2 separate regions of the Homo sapiens genome follow, and region 1 is linked to region 2. The links are contacts of gene promoters, found by promoter capture Hi-C in blood cells and fetal thymus (Javierre and others, 2016). All regions are on one chromosome and are shown on one strand. Each heading gives the region's core, a stretch centred on a gene start or on the middle of the fragment in contact. The rest is flanking DNA. Distances are from core to core; before and after follow the strand shown.

Region 1 (6,633 bases), core at 3,509-6,008, about 65 Mb before region 2:
ATCTTTTTTTTTTTTTTTAATTCCTAGCTCCCTCCCAGTACATTTCAAAATAACCAAAAAAAAAAAAAAAAAAAAAAATTATAAATTTTTTGGTAGCAAGAGCACAAGTGCTCAAGCTTATAAAAATGCAAATAAATTTGTTTGGGATGCAATATGACGAAACACATACTTCTCAATCATTTAACTAGTCAATTTTTTTTAGCATATTGCCAAAATGTAGATTTCATATGTTGACTTTACATTGCTAATTACACACATCCTATTTCTTTTCTCGTTATTTTTCTTTCTTTCTTTCTTTTTACTTTTTGCGACTCCCTCTGGTACCCAGGCTGGAGTTCAGTGGTGCAATTTCAGCTCACTTCAACCTCTGCCTCCCAGGCTCAATTGATCCTCCCAGGCTCAACTGATCCTCCCATTTTCAGCCTCCCAGGGCGTGCTACCATGCCCGGCTAATTTTTGTGCTCATTGCAGAGGTGGAGTTTCCCCATGTTGCTCAGACTGGTCTTGAATTCCTGGGCTCAAGCGATATGCCAGCCTTGGCCTCTCAACCTGCTGGGTTTACAAGCGTGAGCCACTGAGCCCAGCAACAGATATATTTTCAAGTGGATGGTATCCCATCAGTTGTGATATATGATGTAAACACTCTACTAATAATTAAACTTTGAAGTTTGTGAAAATTTTACTTTTATTATAGTTAGAATAATTCTAAGTTATTCCTATAATAATGCTACACTTATTCACTTGAATTCTGATACACATTTCTTGAACAGGAAGGAGATACAGATACAGCTTATGCACATTTATATTCATTCATTCATTCGATAAATAAATATGTATTGTTAACCACGTTCCAGGTACTTTATTTGGTAGTTAGGATTTAGTAGTAAACACGAGAAAGTCTTCAACATCATCCTTAGATCGTGATCTCTGCATATCACAAATCATACAAAATAAATTTGCTTAAAAATGTGGGAACCTGCCTTTCAAAACCTGCCATTTAGCACTACTGTGGCATAACCTATAAACCTAAACATAGACCCTCATGATTTATGCATTTAAGTTTGTGGGAAATAGGTCTCTTGTCCCTTGTCCTGAAAGTAAAAGACAACCCTGTCTGAATACACTGAATATCCGTGGATTGTACTGTTTCCGGACGCTGCCTAAGAGCATAGGGAGAATTTGTTTTTTTGTTTGTTTTTTGTTTCGTTTTATTTTTGAGACGGAGTTTCGCTCTTGTTGCCCAGGCTGGAGTGCAAACGGCGCGATGTCGGCTCACTGCAACCTCCACCTCCCGGTTCAAGAGATTCTCCTGCCTCAGCCTCCCTAGTAGCTGGGATTACAGGCGTGCGCCACCACGCCCGGCCAATTTTTTTTTAGTAGAGTCAGGATTAGTATTATTAGTAGAGATGGGGTTTCACCATGTTGGCCAGGCTGGTCTCAAACTCCTGACCTCAGGTGAGCCGCCCGCCTCAGCCTCCAAAGTGCTGGGTTACAGGCATGAGCCACCGCACCTGGCCGGGACCCGACCAGGATGCTGAATACAGAAATGCTTAGGTAAGAGAAAAGAAAAGTTAATTTGTCACACTTTTCCTTTCAAACTACATGAACATATTTTTGCATTATAAAGTATTATATCTAAGTAGTTCCAAACATGGAATTTCTTATTTCCTTTTTTTCCCCCCAATTTATGGTTCTGGATATACTCAGGAATTAGTGTAGAATTCTCAACAATCAGATATGGTTGCTGAGGAACATTTAACAATATTAAACAATTCACATGACTCTGAAATTTGAAAATAGGTAGATACAGACATAACATGAACAAAGGGTGATACCAATTCTTTACACTGGCAACTAGGTGGACATTGAATGATACGCTTGTGAGTAATTTACTTTAATGAACAATTTCATTAAGTAATATTTACCAAAAAAACAAATACAACTTTAGATTTATTTAAATTATTTTACTTAAAATTTTGTCACTAATTAAACCCCGTCTCTACTAAAAATACAAAAATTAGCTGGGTGTGGTGGCAGGCACCTGTAATCCCAGCTACTTGAGAAGCTGAGGCAGAGGATTGCTTGAACCTGGGAGGCGGAGGTTGCAGTGAGCTGAGATCACGCCACCACACTCGAGCCTGGGCGACAGAGCAAGACTCCATCTCAAAACAAAAAAAAAATATTGTCACTAATTATACTTTACATCTTATAAGAAAGGTAAATCTTTTGAAAAAAGTGAAAAAGATTTAATGTATTGCTTTTTAATTTAATTTATATTTTTATTGAAACATTCAAACTATATGTTTGGAATATAATTAAATTTTATTTTTAATCCTTTTTGATCATTATTTCTGATAGAACACAATTACATGAAAATCTTGATCAAACAGCATACATGGTAATTTTGCTGAAATGAAGGTAAATTTTCATGGGCTAAATATATAGGAAATGTATTAACTATAGATGTCTTTATCACTCATCCAAAATAATCAGCCAATCAATAGGACACCCGGACAGGAATGATATAATTAAATGCAATCAGATTTTGCTGATTTTCATCTATGTAAAAACATTTTTATTTTGCCATTATAAATGTTTACTCACCAATATTGAGAGTTATAGCATATCCTAGTTAATAATGTGTTAAGTTAATTTATAACTTTTAAATATTTACACCTACAGCAGTGAGTCCATCTGTACTCTTTCTCAGGCTCCATAAGTCTTAGGGATGGGCTTTATGCCAACGTGCTGAAGCCAATATTATAGTGAGGGAATACAAGAAATAAACAGGTAAACAAACAGACAAATCAGGTCATTTCAAGTAGTGATAATGGCTATGAAGAAAATACCAGCTTGGTACATCTGTCCGTCAGATAAAAATATATAATTCAAGATTATTACATTTTTTTTAAAACCAAAGCTTTTTTTTAAAAAAAAATTACATTTATGAACATCTGACTTGTTTTCCTTTTTACTTTCCAAAGTAAAATTCGGCATGGCACTATACACCATCACAGCTGACATAGGAAGGACTGAGTCAAATCTTTGTAGCACTTTTTCAAGTTTCACTTAAATAAAGCTTTTAAAAAATATATAGGGTATTTTTTAAGCAAAAAAAGCAAATTATCTTATCAATGAAACAGACCTGGTGTTCATTTCTTTTAAAGTACCGAAAGCTGATTGCTTCTGTAAAGGTAAAACTCCTGTGACATGTTAGAAAGAAAAAAAAAATTCCTTTGAGAGATATGTTTGTAAGAATGAAATAGGTACTACTAGAATTTTCATGTTATTCTCTGCAAGGCACTCAACACCACATGAAAAGAAGATTATTAACAGTCAGTAGAAATACTAATAACTGAAGAAAATATTTGGTTGTTTTAAATGCTTTTAAAGCAAACCAACAACAAAAGATTCTGTTTGTAAATGGGAGAGAATCTGCATGAGGTATAGACAACCAGGGCCTCCAAATTTGTAGCTGTGTTTCTGACATTCTCCAGGGAAGACGGTTACAGAAAGACTTGACCCCCTGGCCCCGCAGAGCTCTTCAGAGAAATTAATGCATCCAGAAAAGACAGAGCATCAGATCTCACTCCTTCGTCTGGAAGACGTCAGTTCATCCTAGTTCTAGCGCATACCGGTGTTTTGGAAACAGATTAGCTATATTCATACATAAGGATACTCTTCCGCAACACTATCTGTAGTGAGGCCAAGACCAGTGGTTGCGGGAATCTTCGCAAACAGGCAAGAGACAATTTTTAGGGGCGATGGAAACTGTCATTTTGACTGGGGAGGTCATTACACCTATACATGCATTTGCTAAAAGTCATCAAACTCTTCCACTGACGTGGGTGTAACCATTGTTTGTAAATTATACCTCAACAGGATTCGATTAATTTATTTATTGAGACAGTCTCGCTCTGTGGAGTGCAGTGGTGCAATCTTGGCCCACTGCAACCTCCGACTCCCGGGTTCCAGCGATTCTTCTGTCTCAGCTTTCCTAGTAGCTGGGATTACAGGCGCCCGCCACCACGTCCGGCTAATTCTTTTATTTTTAGTAGAGACGGGGTTTCGCTATGTTGGCCAGGCTGGTCCCGAACTCCTGACCTCAGGTGATCAGCTCGCCTGAGCTTCCCAAAGTGCTCGGATTACAGGCCGCGCCTGACTATGATTCGTTTTGAAAGAAAAAAATATATGCCATTTACCCCTCGGGAATGGAAACATAGAGGAGTGACAAGATCTCCCCCAAGCTCTGGGGCGGTGGAGTCCAGCATTTATAGATCGGTTTGCACTAGGAGCAGAAGCTCCTTTCACGACAATCTCGGCCTCTTCCCACTTTGTAGAGTGAGTAACAAGCTCGGAGAGATGAAATAATTTGGTGGCGTTAACCCGGCCGACAGGCGCCAGCGCCAGGATTTGAACCCAAACCACGTGACTTCACAACCCATAGCTTTCAACACTACGCGGTGCTGCTGGCACCTAGTAAAGGCTGGATCACTACTGAATGAATGATTCTGGCTACGGATCCTTAAAGCCCACAGAAGGCCCATCCAGAGACCGAAAGCTTCAGACACAAGCCGCAGAGCAGACCGCTAAACCGGAGCTACAGAGGCGAAGCTCAGACTTGAGCCTGAGTCCGGCGGGCTGAGGGGCGGGCTTTCGTCTCGGGAGGCGGAGCTGTCTCGTCGCATTCCCGGCAAGCTTGAACCTCTTCACTTGCCGTAGCGCCTGCAGCAGGAAGTTGCTCTACAGCATGCCTTAGGTTTCCGGGTGAGGGTTGGGCTCCTTGGTACCATGTGGGAAGCGCTGTGAAGAGTTGTTGCCTTCCAAGATATACCCAAATTCCCAGTTCCAGGTAAGCGGCACAGAGCCGCTTGATGTGGCTGCGGATGGGGGCGGCATATCGAGGGAGGGTAAGAGTTTTCCGGATATCTGCGGAATCAGGGTTGAAGGAAAGCCTTGGCGCGGTCGCCGCTACTGTAATTAGTTGTTAACGCTGCTGCCATCGTCTTTGCATCTCCGGGGTCCACAAATCTCAGGACACCCGCGTTGTGTGTCCATGACGGTGCTGAGTGCAGAAGAGAATTGTTTGTTTACGAGGCGCCTTATAATTTCGTAGAAACTTATCAAAGTGCTTACGTTTTTTTAGCCCGTGTCATTAAAACTCCGCTGGCGTGAAAGATGACGTCCTTAGCCCAGCAGCTGCAACGACTCGCCCTCCCTCAAAGTGATGCCAGCCTCTTATCTAGAGATGAAGTTGCTTCTTTGTTATTTGACCCTAAGGAAGCGGCCACAATCGACAGGGACACCGCCTTCGCCATTGGTGAGCCATCTTTTAACTTAGAAAAGCTCTTGGAAGCGTTTGTTTTCTGGATGTTACTGTTTTTTTTTTTTCCCCTTGTTTTCTCTTCTGTCCCGTCCTCTTCCTTAGCAGTTTCTAGCATGTTGATGTATATTTTTAAGGGAAAGAGAACATAACAGTCAGGTGCTTGGTGCTTGAAATGTTTATGAGTAGAGGTATCTGGATTTCACAGATGAAGAAACAAAATTAGAGAGGTCAACTAATATGTCAAAGAGAAGAACAGCTAAAAGGGGGATGGAGGCAGTGACTGGGGTGACGGAGAAGTCCTCTCAGAGGACTGGCCTAGTTATTGTAGGGGATATCCAAAAAAAAAAAAAAAAAAGTGTTCCCTGCCACGAAGTACTTTCTGTTCTAGTAGATGAGATAGGATTTACTCTAAAAGTTGAAAACTAGAAATCAGTGTTTGGGACTGTATTATAAATTATATGTACTTAAAGAATTCAGAAACTTCTTAGGGGTAAGTAAAACTGTAAAAGAGGGGTGGGATGAATTTGCTTACGAAGAATTGTTAAATAAACTGGCCTTTTTTGAAATTTAGGATGTACTGGCCTGGAAGAGTTGCTTGGAATTGATCCTTCCTTTGAGCAGTTTGAAGCACCGTTGTTCAGTCAGCTAGCAAAAACCTTGGAGCGAAGTGTTCAGACCAAAGCAGTAAACAAACAGTTGGATGAAAACATTTCATTATTCCTTATTCACTTGTCGCCTTACTTCCTGCTTAAGCCAGCACAGAAGTGTCTGGAGTGGTTGATTCACAGGTAGCTAATAGAATTACAGAAATAACTATGGGTTAATCACTTTGGTCTTGTAAAAAATTAAGTAGTTGAGAACTTATCAAATTAAAGCTGAAAAATTAGGTATATTAAGAGATTGATACAATGTCCATTGTGTGAGATAAGCATGCTCTTCTGCCTTTAAATTCTTTTTTGTTGATAGTGAAAAGTAGAACTACTGGTGATTTTGAGTAAATGGTCTAACCTCATTAGTTTTTTTTTGAGATAGAGTCTTGCTGGGCACTCAGGCTGGAGTGCAATATTGAAATCTTGGCTCACTGCAACCTCTGCCTCCCAGGTTCAAGTGATTCTCCCACCTCAGCCTCCCAAGTAGCTGGGATTACAGGCACCTGCCATAATGCCTGGATGAGTTTTGTGTTTTTGTAGAGATGGAGTTTCACCGTGTTAGCCAGGCTGGTCTTTAACCCCTGACCTCAGGTGATCCACCCGCCTCGGCCTCCCAAAATACTGGGATTACAGGTGTGAGCCACCTCGCCCAGCCTA
Region 2 (7,062 bases), core at 4,298-6,797:
GACTCATGTCTTGATATTGTGTAATATCAAAGAATATTAAATTCAGAAGATATATAGAAATACATAAATGTACTCTTTGCAATAGTCCTCTGAGATAGGGGAAATGGATATTATCCTTGTATCACAAATCAATATATTTAAAACTTAAGCCAGGTTAACTTGCCCCAAAATTAACAGCTGGCACAAAGTGACAAAAAGGACTAAACCTAGGTTTTAAAACAATTAGTCTAGAGTCCACTTTGAGTATTCAATATATCTAAAAATCAAGAGATTTTCCCTCTTCCCCCTTTAACCTTCCACTTTTGTAACTTGACCTAGATTATTTTAAGGTCACCAAGGATATCACAGCCAAATCCAAAGACTACTTGTCACATATTTTTCTGAACTCTGCTACATTTAGCTCTAATAATCCTGTTTTTAGATTATCCTCTTCTGCCCTGATTTCTATAGTGACTTCCTTCTTATTTTGTCTTGTTCTTCCCTTGCCATAGACTGTCCTAGACATCCTATTACATTTCTCTATCTAAATAAACCTACTCCTTTGCGGTTTATCATGAAAGTGGTTGTCTCAAGTATGTAGTTAAGACTAATTCATATCTCTATTCCTGTAATGCTGCCATTTCCTATTTTATCAATCTATTCCATTCTAGGCTTTCGACCTTCATTAACTGTACCTGTGGCCTGATCCTATCCAGTATTCATTTCTTATAGCAGTAATGTCCCAAAGGGTGGAATACAAAGACTGGTAGTATACTGGATGATTTTAAGTGATCCACAGAAAATTATGTAAAATCATGTTTATTTTAAAACATGTTGGGGGGAAGCTAATGCCAAATAATCATAAAAATTTCCTTTTAAACGGCAGGATGCAGTGGCTCACGCCTGTAATCCCAGCACTTTGGGAGGCCAAGGTGGGCGGATCACGAGGTCAGGAGTTCGAGACCAGTCTGACAACATGGTGAAACCCCATCTCTACTAAAAATACAAAAATTAGCCAGGCGTGATGGCAGGCACCTGTAATCCCAGCTACTCAGGAAGCTGAGGTAGGAGAATCACTTGAACCCGGGAGGGAGAGGTTGCAGTGAGCCAAGATAGCGCCACTGCACTCCAGCCTGGGCAACGGAGTGAGACTCCATCTAAAAAAAGAAAAAAAAAATTCGTTTAAATTCATTTAATTAAAAGACAGCAAGTTGAATTGAAGAAAAATATTAAGTAACAGGCAGATGGTTTGGGACGAAGCAGAAATTGTGAATGATTTAAGTTTGGAAAATACTGGCCACTAGGAAACCCATGTAGTTGAGTTAGGCACTCAGGCTCTGGATCAATAATTCAAATGCCATTTCTACCACTTAAAAGCTAAGTAACTTTGAGCAAATTACTTAAATCTCTTCCTTTTAGGCTTTCTGCAATATGGATTTAAATAGATCATTCAAAAAATAGTCTTAGTTTAGTAACATGGCATAGTAAGTGCTCAAGAAATATTAATAATCACAATTATTCTTGATTTTTCTTAGACATCACAGCTTCACTTATAATCAACTAGGAACTCAATCTGTACTATCTGTAATTTTCTGTACCAAATTTCCCTTACCTTCTTATACACCTTTTTATCTTCTGGCATGAATCCAAAGACTACAAGATAACTTTTAACATTAATCCTTAAGGCTGTGAACACCTTGGGAGTGGACCAAATGCCATATTGCTCTGATTCACTGGGCCTTACAAAATTAAAAGAATCTTCAATCTTTGTTGAATAAGCTAAAAATTTTAAAAATCAGATGTAAATAAATCTCACAATGCATATTATTTAACACAAACTCTTCGAAGGTTACCTGTGATACTATTCTTAGAGGTAAAGGAAAAAAAACCTGACAGCATTTTCTTTTGCTCCAATAATATACTTATCAGTTAATCTTGTGGGTCTATTCTTTTGTGTTTCTCACCCTCATTCATTCAATAACATATAAACTCTAGGTATACGCCAACCACCATACAAGGTGATGAGGACATGGAAACAGTCTAGTAGAGGAAAACAAACTAGTATTAGAACACAGAAAACAGAAAAATTACCAGATAGTATGTAGTACATATTGCTATGTAGTATGCTACATACATAATACCCAATAGTTTTTTTAATACTAGACGTGCTCCTCAAATGATATTCCATCTTCCCTTAATGTTGAGCACATAGCAGCACCACACAGGGATGAGTATATCACACTGACTATAATTCACATAATAATTTCATTACAATCTTGTGTTCAGACTCTTAGTTAACAGTCTAAGAGTCTAGTTAATCATGTCTGCCAATCAGATAAAAATTTCCGGTTGAAACTAAGTAACAGTCCTTGTTTGACTGGATTTGCCAGCAAATACATGTAGTCACAGGCCCCAAAACATGCTTTCTGATAATCTGGAGGAAAATAAGGACTAGAAATGTAACTGGCAATGCTGGGAGCAATGGTAGGCACTTCTAGTCCCAGCTACCTGGGAGGCTGAGGCAGGAGATTCTCTTGAGCCCAGGAGTTGGAGGCCAGCCAGGGCAACAGAGTTAGGTCTGTCTCTTAAATAGAAAATTTACTAAAGTTACCCTCTCTATAGAACGCTTTTATCCACAAAGGTGTTCTGGCTCATGCATCGATGAGATTAGCGAGGAATTTAAAATGTTATTACTCATAAAACTAACACAGTAACTCTCAGACTTGTAAGCAACAATTAACATAGACTGAGATAAGCTTTCATTGTGTTGTCCTATTCATAAGGTGACAAAATCACGATTTACCGAAATGAAAGTGTGTCATAACTCAGACACAATTTTTGTATGTCCTTCACTGTAAGAATACAATTCTGTACTAACTTATGTAACATTTTACCAATGATCAATTCTTGTCATTTACAAATATGACATAAATAGCATCCAAAACACAAGTTACCTAACTAACAAACTGAAGTAGTGTTTAGGGGTGGCACTTGGAGGCAGACAGGGATATAATATAATCTTCAAAGACATTTTATCACTAAAGAGGGTGGGGTGGGGGTAAGAAGAAGAGAGGGGGCTGGAATGAGCCAGAACTTCTGCATTTTCAGCTATGAACAAGATACTCATCCCAGGGATATTTACTGTAGAGCATAAAGAAATCGCTAAGAAGCAAAATCCTGCATATAAGTAGACATATCAGGGATAAGGGGAGGTGAAATTTTCTTATGTACCTAAAGAAATATATACATCACCCTGAGAATTTACAGATTATTTATTGCTTGGAAGAGAGTATTTTCTTCTACCAATATCCTACCATTCTCCCTCCACTATTAGTTGACCTTTTACTATGCACTAAGCATAGTAATAAGCCCTTTACATACATTATCCATTATCTTTTTTTACTCCTATAAAAGCCTCTGAGGGAAGTCCTATTATCATCACCATTTTACAGATGAGGGAATATTCTACCAATAATATAGATCAGACGCCTAAATTTAAAAATTATATCTACGACATGGTAGAGTTAGTTTTAAGTTATCTCTAAGCACTCAAATAGAAAAGGACACAAAAAAATTAGCCTCTACCCCAAGTCCAAAGTGGATATATTCCATTTTTACAACTTTCAAAACTTTAACCTTAGCATGCAACAATATTCATATACTAGTCAAGCTAAAGAAAAACTACTAGTTAATAATGCTTTATCTTATTTAGTTACTGTAGTTTATAATTTAAAAAGCAGGTTGAAGGTTTAGAGCATCCCCTTTGGGTTCAGACAGTATGGAATTGAACCTACACAATACCACCAATAACTGCTATGTGACCTTGGTCAGACTACTCTCTCAGATTTCATTTCCTCATCTGTAAAATGGGGATGATCTTAATAGCACTTTTCTCAAAGGTCTGTTGTGGAGATTAAAAAAAAAATGTATGAAAAGGACTTATTACTGTGCTCAGTGTATAGCAAAAGGTCACCTAATGGAGAACAGCCACACATAAGCTAAGCAGAGCAAACACAATCACTTAAAAAGGCTATATTCTGAAAATCCACTTACAGAAAAGGAGAGAATTACTATTTGACTACATGCTAAAGACAAAATTCAAGTTCAATTTATTCCTAATTTTTTAGGGGATCAATGCATTTGGGGTGAGCCAGAAAAGATGCTGCAGTGCATCTGTGACACACACCTAAAAATGGCTCCAGTCAAAGCAGCATCTTAATTACCAATATGGGAGGTGAAATCTAGTTTTGAAAAATGGTGGGGTTAGGCTTGGTAGGTGCTTAGTATCACCCTATTATTTTTATTTGCAGGAGTAAGCTATTAAGTACTCAACAATCAAAAAATCCTCCGATTCTTCTGGTGCATTCCAAATGAAAATCTTACAGCAGAGCCGCCTACTGTACAATTCTAAGTACTCTAACGAGGTATGAATCTATGAACCCAGGCTGAAAACCAGCCAATGCGGAAATCCAGGTAGCTTTATAAGCCAGCAAACATCAGGCATGTCAGACCCTCAAAAGATCCCAAATAATGTCAAAACACACATACATCCCTTTAAATTAAAGGTACTCCTCTCATGCAAAGGAAGGAAGACTCTATCAATGTCTCTATAGTGGCCCCATGCCCTTTTCTTCAGTCCTAAAACGGGGCCTTTACCCTGACACCACCAATATCAACGCTATCTCAAAGACAGGGAGCTACCGAGATTCACCACGCAAGTTAGAGGATGGAGCGGCCTAGAGTGTGAAAAGACTACCCAAATCCTCCTCCGGAGTTGGGCAGCACTTCCCTAGCGGAAGTAGGGTTGGTCTTGATTCCCCGAAGAGCCTCTCATCTAACCAGGTCTTTAAACCAGACCCTCCCATACATTGCTCATTGCAAGTCCCACCCTCACTACACAGGAAGAGGTAGACAGTGAAAGCCCCGGCTGAGTCCTTCAGTTGTTTGGGGAAACGCATACCCGACACTAAAAAAAAAAAAAAAAAAAAAAGACTTCACGTCCGCCAGTCCAGGAAGACGGAAACCCCCTTCGCTTACCCGGCAACATGCGTAATCCCCTCGCAGGGCCAGGACTGGGGTCTAGGTGGGAGCAAGACAGACCGGTCCAGAACTCCCGCTGCAGACCACATGGGGCGGGTCTGACTCCGGTTTCCCGCTCCCCAAGCTGGAGGCCGACTTCCCCAGACACAGAGATGATGGTAACCAAACAGAAGGGAAATGCCCGGACCCAAGGCCCTCTCCACGCGGCCCCCTAGCCTCCGGGCGCCAGGGTCTGGGTGCGCTCCCACGCCCCAGGCCGCACTCTGGCCGTTCCCGATGGGGCCCTCTTTGATCGCGGCCCCCACACCCTCGCTTTCCTTACCGGTCAGGGTGAGTGTCAAGTTTGCGCACTTCGAGGGTCTCCGCCGATCTCTGATCGAAAGAAGGGGGAGGGAAAGCTGGGGTTAAAGGGGTGGCCGGAAGGGCCACCAGACTGGAAAAGCCGAAGCTGCGGATGGACAAACCGCCAAAGCACTTTCGCAGCTTTCCGAGGGGGAGCGAGCGAGCGAGAAAAAGAAGCAAGATGGCGGCTAGCCAGCCCCTACGTACTACGTCATGACGCTAAGTACGTAGGTCAAATCTCCGCAAGACCACACTCCTGCGCAGAGACGGCCGGATCACGTGAAGCCTCCGTGGCGGCCCAACCCCGACAGAGGGTGCTGGCGCTTCCTGCTGGACGGAGGGAGTTTCTGCAATCAGAATTATCTTTTCAGGACAAAGCTTGGACCTGAGACCTTTCTAAGAAGTCTTGAATTGACCACGTTTACAAGTTGATAATAAGCCTCAGTGAAATGAGCACTCTTATGTCTGGTGGGTGGATGTGTAAATGGTTGAACCAGCAGTTCGCCAGTATGTCTCAGTGAATTTGGGGCAAGCTGAGAAGTCTTGGTGTATTGAAAAGTTATCACAGAGAGTGAAAGTAAAACTAGTGTGAGGAACAGAGTAGCATGGGCTGCTGAGAGCACTTTTTAAGTTTCTAATTATGGATGTGAGATAAGCCATTCAGTTTATTTATATGATCTCTCCATCACAGTGTTCAGCTCCGTTGAATAGTAAGATTCACCCATGCTGGCTTTTACTAGGCAAGTGTAACATAGGCAGATGAGTGTATCTGGAAGTGGGAGACTACAATGATGATAATATTATGTCAGAACAGATGGCGAATGTTTAGTAAATGGTATCTTTTGTCCTCTTTGTGAACTACCTATGACATATTTAAAATTCAAGGATTTCTTACCACTTCTGGTCTGAACGATCTTCCCCGCCAGTAGCTGGTGTATGTCCATGGAATTGTCACTGTAGCAATGTTAGAATAAATGAAATAATAAAGAGAGGTAAATTATGAACACCTCCCTCCCCACTAATATTAATTTGAAGTAGAAAAGTCTGGACTTGCTTGGTGGCTCATGCCTGTAATACTAATACTTTGGTAGGTCAAGGCAAAAGGATTGCTTGAGACCAGGAGTTCAAGACCAATCTGGGCAACATAGTGAGACCCTACCTCTGCAAAAAAATTAAAAAGAAAAAAAGCTAGCTAGGCATAGTGGCACATGCTTATAGTCCTAGCTACCTGGGAGGCTGGAGGCAAAAGGATCACTTGAGCACAGGAGGTTGAGGCTGCAGCGAGACTCTTTCTCGAAAAAATAGAAAAGAAGAAAAGAAAAAGTTTTTTTATTGATATAGGGTCATTGCCAGGGGAAAGCCTACTGATCATCCACAAGAGGACAAGGAAGCATTACTTTAGTGAATTTCTACAACCTTCTAGGATCTGGTCTATAGTGTCCTGGTCACAGAAACATCTTTCTTTGTTTTTTTGGAGGCAGGGTCTCACTTTGCTGCCCAGGCTGGAGTGTAGTGGCATAATCACAGGTCACTGAAGCCTCAACCTCCCAGGCTCAAGCAATCCACCTGTCTCAGCCTCCCAGGTAGGTGGGACTACAGGTGCTTGCCACAAAACCTGGCTTTTTTTTTTTTTTTTTTTTTTTTTTGCCAGTAGAGACGAGGTCTTGCTATGTTGACTGGGCTGGTTTCGAACTCCTGAGC

Evidence for each region. The method cuts DNA at HindIII sites, captures the fragments that hold promoters and counts their contacts. A CHiCAGO score of 5 or more calls a contact.
Region 1: the fragment with the promoter of HEATR1 here is called in contact with the fragment with the promoter of PRRC2C in region 2 in 1 of 17 cell types (total B cells); the score reaches 6.8 in total B cells.

The regions. Positions count from the first base shown.
Region 1 is chr1:236,602,641-236,609,273 of GRCh38, reverse strand. HEATR1 (HEAT repeat containing 1) reads left to right here and starts at 4,758. Exons shown (of 45, transcript NM_018072.6): 1 at 4,758-4,852; 2 at 5,147-5,320; 3 at 5,898-6,114. The coding sequence starts at 5,179. RefSeq lists an enhancer at 4,558-4,817. The HindIII fragment of the contact is 2,349 bases long and covers 4,701-6,633 here.
Region 2 is chr1:171,484,015-171,491,076 of GRCh38, reverse strand. PRRC2C (proline rich coiled-coil 2C) reads right to left here and starts at 5,547. Exons shown (of 35, transcript NM_001387844.1): 1 at 5,342-5,547. RefSeq lists enhancers at 4,994-5,742, 5,649-5,958. The HindIII fragment of the contact is 3,004 bases long and covers 2,738-5,741 here.